2 separate regions of the Homo sapiens genome follow, and region 2 is linked to region 1. Evidence: promoter capture Hi-C in 16 types of primary human blood cells and fetal thymus (Javierre and others, 2016). All regions are on one chromosome and are shown on one strand. The core of a region is centred on a gene start or on the middle of the fragment in contact, and the rest is flanking DNA. Distances in the headings are between cores, read along the strand shown. Region 1 holds the start of ZNF135 (zinc finger protein 135). Region 2 overlaps ZNF850 (zinc finger protein 850).

Region 1 (2,700 bases), core at 98-2,597:
GCTCAGTGTGGCACCACTGACAGCTTCTCACCAGGACTATCAGACCGCTTGGGAAAAAGACTTCACCATGAGTTGTGTGTTCATACCTTTTGATCCAGTAAAAGGAAACGGTTGGGGGTGGGGGTGGGGGGCAAGAGTATACATTTTGTGAAAGAAAAAATACACAAAAAGATGTTTTGTGGCATTTGGGTTTGTGAGTTCGAGAACTGAAAAACGGCATTTTATGTATAATGGAAAGCCTCTTTACTGCTGTAGAGTGAAAAGCAGGCTGGCTTTCAGTGCGACGGTCACAAATGTGGGGCTTTACAGTACTTGGAATGTACAGGACGCCCTTAAAAGCCAAGAAGCTTGCCTTTGCTTTGTTTACATCAGTGCATTATGATTTTGAGCCATTATATCTCTTCATAATTGCCACTGTTTTAGGGCTTATGAAATTTAAAGTCTTAACTTGTGTGTTAACCAGCCAAATCTTTGCAAGTGTCTGTGTGTGGTACGAGAATTCGTATTGTGTTCTCTGCTGTTTTCAGAGTTGTTTCAGTCAAAGAAAAAAAAATGCCCGTCTTAAAACTTTTCCTCTGCTTCAAATACAGCTCCCAAGCCCAGGCTGATTGGAATTAATCTGTCCTCCCTTAAAAGGGCAAAAGCACAAGGCTCAGCCCTGGCTTTCCCAGCTCCTCTGGTCTCGCTGCTCCACGGACGTGTGACGTACGCTGGTGAAACGAAGCCCGCTTGAATGGGGGCTTCACTATTGTGTGCTGCTGAACCTAGGCCTAGCGCCTGGCAGGCTTTGGTGAATGTTCAGAAAATGACAATTCATTTCGTGTCAGCGAGGGCACACCAGCTTTGAATATTTTGCTGCTGTTCAAATGCACAATTTTGACAATTACCTAGCAATGTCCAAAGTCGTCATAATTGTTAGTGTCTTGCACGTGATGTTCCTTATAACCATGTAATAAATACAGTGTGAAGTCTCCATGGCTGCCTCAGTGTGGAAAATGCAAAGACTCCCGTGTGTGCGATCTTGGTGAATGTTTTGGTTGAAAGTATGTGTTTTGAAAAAATCATTGCTTTGTTTGCAGCAGTAAAACTGACGGTAGAGTTTCCAACACGAAAGCCCGTGTGGTCGCGCCGGGAGCTCACGGCGTTCCAAGCGGCACTTATCCCGCGTTGATGCCCAGGCACCCCGCGCGCCCTGTTTCACCAGGCCCAGTCACTCCAGCTCCAGCAGCACTGAGAGCTCACGAACGCCAAGGGCGAGAGCGAGGTGGGGGAGGGCGGCCGGAAATGCGCGCGCGGCTCTCTGGGAAATGGAGTTAGGCTCGCGCCGGCGCAGTGTCGGCTGCCGGTGCCGCGGCCTTTGTCTCGCAGTCAGGAGGGTGAGCTAGGCCGGCGAGGAGGGGGAGGGGAGGCCAGGCCGGGCCGGGCCGGGCCGGGTGCGGGGGGTCCGGGGATCTTCCTGAGGCCCTGGCGGGGCGAGTTTCCAGCAGCGCGCGTCTGTGTGGAGTCCGTTTTGCTGCCCGGGGCCTGGGGAAGGCCGTTTCGGGGCTGGCGGGGGCAGGCTTTGCGGGGCATCCCTAGTCTGAGAGGAGGGCGGGGCCCAACGCCCAGCTGGACAGGAGCTGCTCCGACGGCCCCTGAGGGAACGCGCGCCCCGCCCCTGGCCCCACCTCTGCCCCACACCGGGCACTGGGCCGCCACCTTTGTTGATGGAAGAGAGAAACTGAGGCATAGTGCCCAGGGCCAGGGGACCGCAACCACCCGGCCCTTGTCACTGTAGCGTTAAGGCTCAGAGTCTGCGCAGCAGATATGTGTCCGCACCCGCCAGGCCTTCAGCTTCCCTCAGACAGGCGGGAAAACCCTAGGCTGCCCTTCTCCGAGCGGAGGGCCGCCCCACACACAGCAGGCGCTTAAACGGGTACGCGGGGCCCTGGACGGCTCTCCGCGGAGCTCCCCAGGCTCTGGCGCAGTTCCCCGGCTTGGGGACCTGAGCACCGCCTCTGCCTGCCCCAGCTGCTCACCTCCCCTTTCCCACAGAGCAGGGCCAGCCGTTCCTGCCAGAAGCCAGGGCATGACCCCTGGGGTGCGCGTCTCCACAGACCCGGTGAGAATCTCGGCCTCCTTGCGCGTGTCCTCCACCTCGTGCCCGGCCTCCTCGCGCGCGGCCTTCTCACGCCCGGCCTCCTCTTTGCACCCCGTCCCTACTCGCGCTCAGCCTCCTCCTTGTGCCCGGCCCCTACTTGCGTGCCCGGCCCCTACTCGTGCCCGGCCTCTACTCGCACAACTGGCCTCTACTCGCGCACCTGGCCTCTACTGGTGCCCGGCCTCTACTCGTGCCCGGCCTCTATTTGCACATCTAGCCTCTACTCGTGTCCGGCCTCTACCTGCACACCCGGCCTCCTAAAGTCCGCGCCAAGCTCCCCAACCACAGCCTGCCTCTGAAAGGACCGCCCACGCCGCGCTGGAGGTCAGCGGGCACGGGTCCCTGTCTGAGTGGGCTTTATGTTTGTGCGGCCGTCATTGCATACCTGAGGCTGGGTGATGTCAGAAAATTGTAGGTGCCCCGGCTCTGCAGTCTGAAGTTGAAGGCCTTAGCATGCTCTGCGCTCCAAGATGGCGCATCGAGTGCCGCTTCCTCAGACGTCATGGAGGCCAAGGGGGCGGAACTCGCCTTTTTATGATGACATTAACCCCACCCATAAG
Region 2 (2,700 bases), core at 77-2,576, about 21 Mb before region 1:
TTCAAGAATAAAAACTGTAATCATTGTAATGTAATTACAATAAATCACATCAAATTTTTTTAAATCTGTGTGTTCATAAGGACAATTTTAAAATTACCTAGTAATTTTTAGGGGATGAGATGAGGAATGGCTGCTAACTTCACAAAAACAGAAACAACCAGATATGTGCTTCTTGATGAAATACACAATACTAATATCACATAGTCTGTTTATAGGAAAGAAAGGAGTAAAGGGAGGAGAGCTAAATGTTAAATGACAGATGATCCAGTTTCTTCAACATATAAATTTCAAGGAGAAAAAGAGAAAGAAATCAACAACAAAACCTCACTGGAATGGTTAAATAACTGGAAATGCAAAAGCAAGGTTAAAAGTCATAAAGAAAAGTCAAAGAATTCATTTGTCTTCCTGAAAGTAATACTGAAAGAACAGGGAGCAAACTATATTCAAGATGGAACAGCTAAAATTTATTCAGAAGTGATGAGGTTTTCTAAAAAAAATCTGAGGTGCCATGAGTGCCATGGATGGTAAATTTTAAAAGTTCTACGGGGCCAGGTGCGGTGGCACACGCCTGTAATCTCAGCACTTTGGGAGTCTGAGGCAGGTGGATCACCTGAGGTCAGGAATTCAAGACCAGCCTGGTCAACATGACAAAACCCCGACTTTACTAAAAATACAAAATAAGCCAGGCATGGTGGTGCACGCCTGAATTCTCAGCTACTCAGGGGGCTGAGGCAGAAGAATTGCTTAAATCCAGGAGACAGAGTTTGCAGTGAGCCGAAATTGTGCCACTGCATTCCAGCCTGGGCGACAGAGCGAGACTTCATCTCAGGAAAAAAAAAAAAAAAAAAAAAGTAAAAGTTCTATAAGCCAGGCATGGTGGTTCATGGCTCTAATCCCAACACTTTGGGATGCCAAGACTGCAAGATTACCAGAGCCCAGGAGTTCAAGACCAGCCTGGGCAACAGCCTGGGACACTGTCTCAAAAAAAAAAAAAAAAAAAAAAAAGCCGGGTGTGGTGGCACATGCCTGTAGCCTCAGGTACTCGGGAGGCTAAGGCGGGAGGATCACCTGAGCCCGGAAAGTCAATGCTGCAATGAGCTGTGGTCAAGCCACTGCACTCCAGCCTGGGTGACCACGGGAGAACCTGTCTCTTAAAAAAAAATTATGCATGATGAAATCCCAATAATAAGAACAAAATGGACAGGAAAAAAAAAAATAGCTTACACACCATGCTTGCTATATGCCAGGCACTATTTTCACTGCTTTACACATTTACTATATAAGCTCATTTAATCTTCAGAAGAATCCTGTGAATAGCATATATATTTGCAAATGAGGACCAGAGAGGTTAAGTAAATTGCCAAAAGTCATAGAGGTATTAAATAGCAGAGCTAGGATTTGAATGGAGGCAATCTGGCTCAAGAGTCCATGCTTTCAACTTCCAAATCAGTGGAATCGAACTAAGTATGGGCATCAGATTTTTTTAAAACCTCAAATCTAAAACAGTGTAAAATAAAACAGGCAACAGAAGACAGGAAAAGTGAGACAAATAGAATAAGCTGGTTAAAAAAATTCAAACAGGCCAAGAGAGGTGGATTGTGCCTGTATTTTCAGCTACTCGGGAGGCTGAGGTATGCAGATTGCTTGAGCCTAGGGGGTTGAGGCTGTGGTGAGCTGTGATTGCTCCACTGCACTCAGCCCGGGCAACAGAGAGAGAGAGACCCTGTCTCAAAAAAAAAAAAAAAAAAATCCAAATACATCACTAATTATAAGGAATGTAAACAAAGAAAAAGTAAATTTCAACCCTTTTAAAATAAAAAGTGACTAAAAACATGAGGACACAAAAAAGTTGAAGTAAAAACTAAGAAAATGAAAATCAGGCAAGTATTCATGAATAGAAAGCTAGGGTCTTAGCACTGGAAAAAAATAGACTTTAAGGTGAAAACATTCTTGGGAATAAAGAGGATTACTACATAATAAAACGTTCATTCACCAAAAAGATATAACAATTCTAAATTTGTAAGCATCCAGTAAAATAAACTCTAAATATGCAAAGTAAAAATTGAGAAAATACAAAAAGTTTAGGCTTCATCTTGATTGTGGGAGATTTCTTTTTTTTAGTTATTTTTTTTGAGATGGAGTCTCACTCTGTCACCCAGGCTGGAGTACAGTGGCACGATCTCAGCTCACTGCAACCTCTGCCCTCCGAGTTCAAGCGATTCTCCTGCCTCAGCCTCCCAAGTAGCTGGGATTACAGGCGCCTGCCACCACGCCCGGCTAATTTTTTGTATTTTTAGTAGAGATGGGGTTTCACCATCTTGACCAGCCTGGTCTTGAGCTACTGACCTTGTGTTTCACCCACCTCGGCCTCCCAAAGTGCTGGGATTACAGGCGTGAGCGACCACGCACGGCTGATTGTGGGAGATTTCAATACACCTCTTTTAATAACTGAGAGGTCAAGCACCCAGAAAATATAAAAGGATACAGAGGATCTTTACATCAAATTAACAAGCATGATATGTTGAACATGTGAGAATTCTACACGCAGCAATTAAAAGAAAGCACAGGAACACGTGAATCCCCACCCCCACAAAAACACTGACAATTCAGCAGTGCGTGAAGTAAGTCTGAACACACTTCCAGAAACTGGTCTCATACTGACCATGTAAATATTGACTATAGTGCAATTAAGGTTGAATT

What was found. The method cuts DNA at HindIII sites, captures the fragments that hold promoters and counts their contacts. A CHiCAGO score of 5 or more calls a contact.
Region 2: a contact is called between a fragment that was not itself captured here and the fragment with the promoter of ZNF135 in region 1, in 1 of 17 cell types (non-activated CD4 T cells). The highest score is 5.2, in non-activated CD4 T cells.

What each region holds. Positions count from the first base shown.
Region 1 is chr19:58,057,935-58,060,634 of GRCh38, forward strand. ZNF135 (zinc finger protein 135) reads left to right here and starts at 1,348. Exons shown (of 5, transcript NM_001289401.2): 1 at 1,348-1,376; 2 at 2,035-2,101. The coding sequence starts at 2,069. The HindIII fragment of the contact is 3,956 bases long and covers 346-2,700 here.
Region 2 is chr19:36,752,442-36,755,141 of GRCh38, forward strand. The region is part of intron 4 of ZNF850 (zinc finger protein 850); the gene reads right to left. Among named protein-coding and RNA genes, the nearest start is that of ZNF850, 19 kb to the right of the region's middle. The HindIII fragment of the contact is 2,842 bases long and covers 1-2,700 here.